2 separate regions of the Homo sapiens genome follow, and region 2 is linked to region 1. The links are contacts of gene promoters, found by promoter capture Hi-C in human tissues and cell types (Jung and others, 2019). All regions are on one chromosome and are shown on one strand. The core of a region is centred on a gene start or on the middle of the fragment in contact, and the rest is flanking DNA. Distances in the headings are between cores, read along the strand shown.

Region 1 (4,502 bases), core at 828-3,327:
AATAGCATGATAGTCTGCCTCAAAAAAAAAAATCTATTTATCTATCTATCTATCTACCTATCTACCTATAGAGAGAGAGAGACAGAGGTCTTACTATGTTGCCCAGACTGGTCTTGAACTCCAGGACTCAAGCGATCCTCCTGTCTTGGCCTCCAAAGTGCTGGGATTACAGGAGTGAGCCACTGTGCCTGGCTAACACTCTTTTTTTTTTTTTTTTTTTTTTTTTTTTAGAGATAGAGTCCCTCTGTCACCAGACTGGAATGTAGTGGCACAATCTATAGCTCACTGTAACCTCAAATTCCTGGTCTCAAGGGACCTTCCCGAGTAGCTGGGACTGCAAGTGCATACCACCACTTCCTGGCTAATTTTTAAATTTTTTCTAGAGACAGGGTCTTGCTTTGTTGCCTGGGATGGTCTCAAACTCCTGGGCTCAAGTGAGCCTCTCACCTTGACCTCCTAAAGTGCTGGGATTACAGGCATGAGCCACTGTGACCAGTTTAGCTTTCCTTAAACATAGGAAAGAACCCCCCCTTAATCAATTTCATCAAACATGACTGATTTTTGTTTGTTTGTTTGTTTTTGAGACAGGGTCTCGCTATGTCACCCATGCTGAGTGGGGTGCAGTAGTGCAAGCATGGTGCTCACTGCAGTCTCCTGGGTTCAGGGGATCCTCTGGCCTCCCAAGGAGCTGGGACTACAGGTTTGAGCTAACATGCCTGGCTAATTTTTTTATTTTTAGTAGACAGGAGGTCTCCTTATGTTGGCCAAGCTGGTCTAGAACTCCTGGGCTCAAGAGATCCTCCTGCCTTGGCCTCCCAAAGCATTGGGATTACAGGCATGAATCGCTGTGCCTGGCCTGATTTTGTTGTACTGCGAGAGAATAAAATGCAGTATAACCTTAATTGTTTGGGGGTCTATTAGATTCTTATGTATTTATTTATTTATTTATTTTTCTAAAAATATAGATGGGGTCTCACTATGTTGACCAGGCTGGTCTCTAACTCCTGGCCTCAAGGGATCCTCCCATCTCAGCTTCCCAAAGTGTTGGGATTACAGGCATAAGCCACCGCACCCGGCTGACATTATGTAAACACTCTTTCTATTCTCCTTGAATTTCTCCTAATTTCTCCTTGAAGTGTACAGGGAAAATAAAAGGAGCTAGAATTCAAAGCCATCTAAATTCTATCTGGCTAATAGCTGTTTGATAAAACCTCCATAGGGAACAAATGAAAACTTTTTTTTTTTTTGAGATAGAGTTTCGCTTTTGTTGCCCAGGCTGGAGTGCAATGGTGCAATCTTGGCTCACCACAACCTCCACCTCCCTGGTTCAAGCAATTCTCCTACCTCAGCCTCCTGAGTAGCTGGGATTACAGGCAAGTGCAATCATGCCCAGCTAACTTTTTGTATTTTTAGTAGAAACGGTGGTTTCTCCATGTTGGTCAGGCTGGTCTTGAACTCCCGACCTCAGTGATCCGCCCGCCTCGGCCTCCCAAAGTGCTGGGATTACAGGCGTGAGCCACCATGCCCGGCTTGATTTATTTCTTAAATGGCTTTATTAAACCTGATATAAAGAGATTAATGTCAAATTGGAGCTTGTTATATCCACAGTCGGTGTCAGGTGAAATTGTCATTTGAAGTCAAAGCTACCCTAAATACAGTCAAATATCATGAAAGTGATTTCTAAAATAAACAAAAATGTACTTGGTCACAGAAAGTTTAAAAAGAAAATTGCAGTCTGTAAACTTCAGATTCACTACCTACCTCTCTGGCTCGATGGAGCTGTGCGCGCTCAATCCTAGAGATGATATCCTTTACTGAGAATGGGATCTCAAGGTTAGGGAGCATCAAAGGACTAAGGATATTTTGGGGCTCTCTTCTCATGATGGTGGAATCCTTGATGCATTTTTCTGATTCAGGGTCATTGTCTATCTCATTTTTCATTTTGAAGAACATTTTGAAAATGTGGGTGATTTCGTTTTATTTCTTCTTTTTCACAGAATCTACAAAAATGCTAATAAAGATATCCAGTAGGAAGCTAGGAGAGGTCTTTCCTGATCCTAGAAGTTGTGGCATACTCTGCTACTAATTGGTGGCTCCCATGATATTCCCGTCCTGTTGATGTCACAATAGACCCATTGTGACATTATCATTGATCAAACATGTAAAGAATGCTTACTATGTGCAGAGAACTGGTCATTCTATATGCTGCCATGGTAGAAGGGTGAGGGGGGAAGGAGGGTAGGAAATAATAGACAACAGGAATGCTAAAATAAACAGAAGATATAGCCCTGCTTAAATAAGCTTAAAATCTAGATGTGTTGGCCGGGTGCAGTGGCTCATGCCTGTAATCCCAGCACTTTGGGAGGCCGAGGCAGGTGGATCACCAGAGGTCGGAGTTCGAGACCAGCCTGACCAACATGGAGAAACCCCGTCTCTACTAAAAAAAAAAAAATACAAAATTAGCCATGTGAGGTGGCACATGCGTGTAGTCCCAGCTACTTGGGAGGCTGAGGCAGGAGAATCACTTGAACCCGGGAGGCGGAGGTTGTGGTGAGCCGAGATCACGTCATTGCACTCCAGCCTGGGCAACAAGAGTGAAACTGTCTCAAAAAAAAAAAAAAAAAAATCTAGGTGTGTCAAATATAACTCCTGGTTCTTCTCTCTTCCTGGGGTTTTGCTTAAGTATTTTTAAGCCTGTAATGGAATAAAGGTTACAACTACTTCCTCAGCTGCCCCTTAACTTTTCCTAGACATGTAGTAACTTGGATGATATCATTTGGATGAAGTAACTTGGATGATATCATTTGGATGAGGATCACACTCTTTGCACTGCTTACTCTTTTTTCTTTTCTTTTCTTTTCTTTCCCTTTTTTTTGGAGACAGAGTCTCACTTTGTTACCCAGGCTGGAGTGCAGTGGTGTGATCTTGGTTCATGGCAACCTCTGCCTCCCAGGTTCAAGAGATTCTTGTGCCTCAGCCTCCCTGAGTAGCTGGAATTACAGGTGCGCGCCACCACGCCTGGCTAATTTTTGTTTAATATTTGCTTCCAATTTTTTTAATAATAAAAAAGCATTACAGAAGGTTGAAGTCCTCTTTGATGTCCCCCACCCCTGGTTCCTTCCTTCCCCACTGTCCCATTCCAGAGGAAATGACAATCATGAATTTTACATATTTGTGTTATCTATTTTTACATAGTTTTACTACAGGTGTATGTATTGTTTTTTCTTTCTTTCTTTCTTTCTCCTTCCTTCCTTCCTTCCTTCCTTCCTTCCTTCCTTCCTTCCTTCCTTCCTTTCTTTCTTTCTTTTTTTTTTTTTGAGGCAGAGTCTCACTCTGTTGTCCAGGCTGGAGTGTAGTAGTGCCATCTCAGCAGACTGTAACCTCTGCCTCCCAGGTTCAAACGATTCTTCTACCTCAGCCTCCCGAGTAGCTGGGATTACAGGCATGCGCCACCACACCTGGCTAATTTTTTTTTTTTTTTTTTTTGAGACGGAATCTCGCCTGTGGCCCAGGCTGGAGTGCAGTGGCATGATCTCGGCTCACTGCAAGCTCCGCCTCCCAGGTTTGCTCCATTCTCCTGCCTCAGCCTCCCGAGTAGCTGGGACTACAGGCGCCCGCCACCACACCCGGCTAGTTTTTTGTATTTTTTAGTAGAGACGGGGTTTCACCATGTTAGCCAGGATGGTCTCGATCTCCTGACCTCGTGATCTGCATGCCTTGGCCTCCCAAAGTGCTGAGATTACAGGTGTGAGCCACTGCACTCGGCCTACACCTGGCTAATTTTTTATATTTTTGGTAGATATAGGGTTTCACTGTGTTGGCCAGGCTGGTCTCAAACTCCTCAAGTGATTCACTCACCTCGGCCTCCCAAAGTTTAGTTGTCAACTAAACTAAATTTGCATTATTCTTTCTCTCTCACTTGCATCTTTTATGCAGCATGGAATTCATCAATCAGCAACTAGACATGAAGGCTTTTCTTTGAGACAAAATCTCACTCTGTCACCCAGGCTGGAGTGCAGAGGCACGATCTAGGCTCACTGCAAGCTCCGCCTCCCAGGTTCACGCCATTCTCCTGCCTCAGCCTCCCAAGTAGCTGGGACTACAGGCGCCCACCACCACGCCCGGCTAATTTTTTGTATTTTTAGTAGAGAAAGAGTTTCACCGTGTTTGCCAGGACAGTCTCGATCTCCTGACCTCGTGGCCTCCCAAAGTGCTGGGATTACAGCCATGAGCCACCACGCCTGGCCATGAAGGCTTCTTAAAGTCAATTTTTAAATCCTGCTTCCCTTTCAATTCGACAAGCATTTGTTGAAACACTATGCAGCTTACATTATCCTAAACTGAAGAATATATGATAGGGTTCCTGTGAAGAAACTAAAACAAAAAAGAAAAGATTTAAGATAGAATATAATAATCAAGTGCTAATAAGGGACACGAAGAAGAGATCTGTAGAAGCAGAATCTTTGAGAAAACCTTATGGAGAGAGAAGGTTGATTGACAAA
Region 2 (4,502 bases), core at 712-3,211, 110 kb before region 1:
GGCTCACACCTGTAATCCCAGCACTTTGGGAGGCCCAGGCAGGGATCACTTGAGGCCAGGAGTTAGAGACTAGCCTGGCCAACATGGCAAAACCCTGTCTTTACAAACAAATAAAATAAACAGACAAAAAAGCTGGGTGTGGTGGTGTGTGCCTGTAATCCCAGTTACCTGGGAGTGTGAAGTGGGAGGATGCCTTGAGCCCAGGAGTTGGAGATTGTAATGAGCCGAGATCACACCACTGCACTCCAGCCTGGGCGACAGAACAAGACCCTGTCTCAAACAAAAAACTCATAGGCCTTTATCTGATAGTGAAGGGAACAATAGAGTTGAAAGGGAAAAATGGAGTAGATACAGGCAAATGTTTACATACATGATACGGTGCAACAAGAATAGCAGAACATACTGCAAAAGAAATTATGTCAACATATTTAAGAATCTTGGAAGAGAATGGCAAATATGCACTATAATTGATGAGACATCTACATATTGGAAGAAAATTACCTAGAGATTTATCTCCAGTACACAGTTGAATAAGCTTCTGTACTGGTAAAGATATTTGTTGCTTTAAAAGAATTGGTGTCAGCTGGGCACGGTGGCTCACGCCTATAATCCCAGCACTTTGGGAGGCTGAGGTGGGCAGATCACAAGTGGGCGGATCACGAGGTCAGAAGTTCGAGACCAGCCTGGACAACATGGTGAAATCCCATCTCTACTAAAAATACAAAAATTAGCCAGGTGTAGTAGTGTGCGCCTGTAGTCCCAGCTACTCAGGAGGCTGAGGCAGGAGAATCGCTTGAACTCCAGAGACACAGGTTGCAGTGAGCAGAGATCACACCATTGCACTCCAGCCTGGGCAACAGAGCGAGACTCCATCTCCAAAAAAAAAAAAAAAAGTAATTGGTGTCTGCCACACAGATTATATTTCTACTACATTATTGTCTATTTTACTTTTTTTCTTTTGAGGCAGAGTTGTGCTCTGTCCCTCAGGCTGGAGTGCACTGGCACGATCTTGGCTCACTGCAACCTCTGCCCCCTGGGTTCAAGTGATTCTCCTGTCTCAACCAAGTAGCTGGGATTACAGGCGTGCACCACCAAGCCCAGCTAATTTTTGTATTTTTAGTAGAGACAGGGTTTCACCATGTTGGCCAGGCCGGTCTCAAACTCTTGACCTCTAGTGATCGACCAGCCTTGGCCTCCCAAAGTGCTGGGATTACAGGCGTGAACCGCCGCGCCCAGCCGATATTGTCTACTTTAAATGTGGCTTCAGTAATGAATATTTGAAATTTAATAATGAATAGTTGAAAGTAAGCTGCATTTTGTTTTAATGGTGCTTTCACAATAATGGGAAAGAAGACTGGAGTGGCCACAGATTTGTCAGAAAAATTTCCTAATGTCATCATTTGGTTCTGTTACCAATTATAATTCAGTATCTGAAATAAAACAAGTCAATCATTTAAAAATATTCTGGATAGTCTGGGCACGGTGGCTCATGCCTGTAATTCCAGCACTTTAGAAGGCCGAGGCAGGCGGATAACTTGAGGTCAGGAATTCAGAACTGGCTTGGCTAACATGGTGAAAGCCTGTCTCTACTAAAAATACAAAAATTCACTGGGCGTGGTGGTGCACGCCAGTAGTCACAGCTACTCGGGAGGCTGAGGCAGGAGAATCACTTGAACCCAGGAGGCGGAAGTTGCAGTGGACTGAGATTGTGCCACTGCACCCCAGCCTGAGACAGAGTGAGACTCCGTCTCAAGAAAAAATAACAATATTATGGATAAAATTTATTCTGTTTACCACCAACCCAAAAAAAGGAAACAGTTGGAAATTATAGCTAAATAACTTGAAACTGAAATTATTAAAATTAGCCAAGTACTTAGGTTGAGATGGGTGGACATGTACTTTACCAACCGCTAATGCTGCATGGCACACATATCCTACATTATAAATGCATTTTTCTCATTCTTTTTATTCTGGCCTAGCAACAAGATCAGCTAATATTAATTTCTTGTAATACCTTACTTTAATGATTGATATTCTTAAATAATTTTCATTACTTTCAGTTGCACTGCAGTTAAGATCAACCAACATTCAGAAAATTAAAAAATTAATAGAATGCACTATAAAAGCTTTGGAAAAATTAAAAATTGGCATTAGAAAGCATGACTCTCAAGTTGAATATTTGGTTAAGTCATCAGTTTGAAGTCATTCCATTTAATAATTTTTTTTTTGAGGCAGGGTCTCACTCTGTTGCCCAGGTTGGAGTGCTGTGGCACAATCATAGCTCATTACAACCTCACACTCCTGAACTCAAGTGATTCTCGTGCCTCTGCCTCTCAAGTAGCTGGGACGACAGGCACATGCCACTACACCTGGCTAATTTTTAAAAACTTTTGGTAGAGATGGGGTGTCACATGTTGCCTAGGCTGGTCTTGAACTCTTGGCCTCAAGCAATCTTCTCATCTTGGACTCCCAAAGCACTGGGCTTACAGGCATGAACTGCCACACCTAGTCAAAAATAGATTTAAACCTCTGCCTAAGAATGTGTTACTAAAAAGTAATGAATACATGTCTTTTATTAGAAACATCATTTTAAGTTGTTTTTATTTGTTAAAATCACCTTCTTGGACTTCTTCACTGTGGAAAATAATATCATTTAAGTGAAATTTTAAAACATGTATTTTGAATTATTTTTTCTTTTTTTTTGATATGGAGTCTCGCTCTGTCACCCAGGCTAGAGTGCAGTGGCGTGATCTCAGCTCACAGCAACCTCCACCTCCCAGGTTCAAACGATTCTCCTGCCTCAGCCTCCCAAGTAGCTGGGATTACAGGCGCCTGCCACCACGCCCAGCAATTTTTTGTATTTTTAGTAGAGACAGGGTTTCATCATGTTGGTCAGGTTGGTCTCGAACTCCTGACCGCAAGTGATGCGCCCACCTCGGCCTCCCAAAGTGCTGGGATTACAGGTGTGAGCCACCATGCCTGGCCTTGAGTTATTTTCAAGATTTTGCAAGTAATAATTTAGAATCAAACAAAATTACAATCCCTGCAATTATACAAAAAGCTAAAAAGATAGCATTATTGCAATCAATAGTGCTAAAACTGAAAGAAGTTTCATTTTAATAAGTTTGTATGAGGTTGAAAAATGGTAATGGATGAGGAATGGTAGTTTAATAGTAAATCAAATGTCACACTTAAGGACAAGAAATATGTTGGGAAAAGATTAGCAGATTGAAAACATCGAATGATGGTTGAATTGCCATCATAAATTGGCTGAGGTAGAAGAGTTTGGAAAAATTATTGAAAGCTTGTGGAATCAACTGGCTGTGTGGAATTCACAAAAAGAGTATTTTATATTTATTATTTGTAAGCTGTAAGCTACACATGCTTTATATTAGTAACATTTTTATAGATTTATATAGATAGATATAGATATGCACACATTATCTCCCCAGGGAGCTGGTTGTTTATTAGCACATTAATGAGTAGTATGTATTTTTAGGGGTAATGTGAAGCTCAAACAAGAAAATGTATGTAAAATATTTGGTATTGCTTACTACAAACTTGATAATAAATGTTAACTCTGTTCCCACTTTCCACCCTACCTGCTTTGTTCTTTCCTGAACAAGTTACTTAACTTTTCAACCATAGTTTCCTAATGGGAATTACAGGTTCATTCCTAATTGACTTTTGGGGATTCAATAAAATGGCATGTCTTACTTAGCTGACAAACTAGGAGCTTAGATTTCTGTTCCTCCTTCTTCTTTTAGTATATAAAGGTGTAATTCATTAAGCATTTGGTAAAATGAAACTTCTGCCATGTCCTTAGGAATAAACCAAAGAAAAATGTTCCAAAATTATTTATAGTTAATAATCTCATATATTGTTATTTATCTAGATCTAGTCTACTTACTGCCAAACTTTTTTTTCATTTCAGTTTATAGTTATAGTTGATCAATCAGATGTCTTTTTTTTGGTAAATATTCTTGTTTTTTATTTTGTTTTTATTCCTGGCAAGCTATGATAGATAGGTAAACATTCTTTTTTTTTTGAGACAGAGTCTCACTTTGTTACGCAGGCTGGAGTGCAGTGGCACAATCTCGGCTCAGTGCAACCTCCGCCTCCCAGGTTCAAGGGATTCTCATGCCTCAGCCTCCCAAGTAGCTGGGATTACAGGTGTGCACCACAACGCCTGGCTAATTTTTTTTGTAAAGACGGGGTTTTGGCCATTCGCAGTGGCTCACACCTGTAATCCCAGCACTTTGGGAGGCCAAGGTGGGTGGATCACCTGAGGTTGGGAGTTCAAGACCAGCCTGACCAACATGGAGAAACCCCGTCTTTACTTAAAATACAAAATTAGCCGGCCGTGGTGGTACATGCCTGTAATCTCAGCTACTCGGGAGGCTGAGGCAGGAAAATCACTTGAACCCGGGAGGCAGAGGTTGAGGTGAGCTGAGATTGCGCCATTGCACTCCAGCCTTGGCAACAGGAGCAAAACTCTGTCT

Evidence for each region. The method cuts DNA at HindIII sites, captures the fragments that hold promoters and counts their contacts. A contact is called where the count stands out against the background at its distance.
Region 2: a contact is called between a fragment that was not itself captured here and the fragment with the promoter of FAM186A in region 1, in 3 of the 25 tissues and cell types used here (H1 embryonic stem cells, mesenchymal stem cells and small bowel).

The regions. Positions count from the first base shown.
Region 1 is chr12:50,394,532-50,399,033 of GRCh38, forward strand. It overlaps FAM186A (family with sequence similarity 186 member A), which reads right to left and starts at 2,078. Exons shown (of 8, transcript NM_001145475.3): 1 at 1,762-2,078. The coding sequence starts at 1,953. The HindIII fragment of the contact is 8,551 bases long and covers 1-4,502 here.
Region 2 is chr12:50,285,962-50,290,463 of GRCh38, forward strand. All of the region lies in intron 1 of LOC107984505 (a long non-coding RNA gene), which reads left to right. It also overlaps the pseudogene LOC100418734. Among named protein-coding and RNA genes, the nearest start is that of LIMA1, 4.7 kb to the left of the region's middle. The HindIII fragment of the contact is 5,152 bases long and covers 1-4,502 here.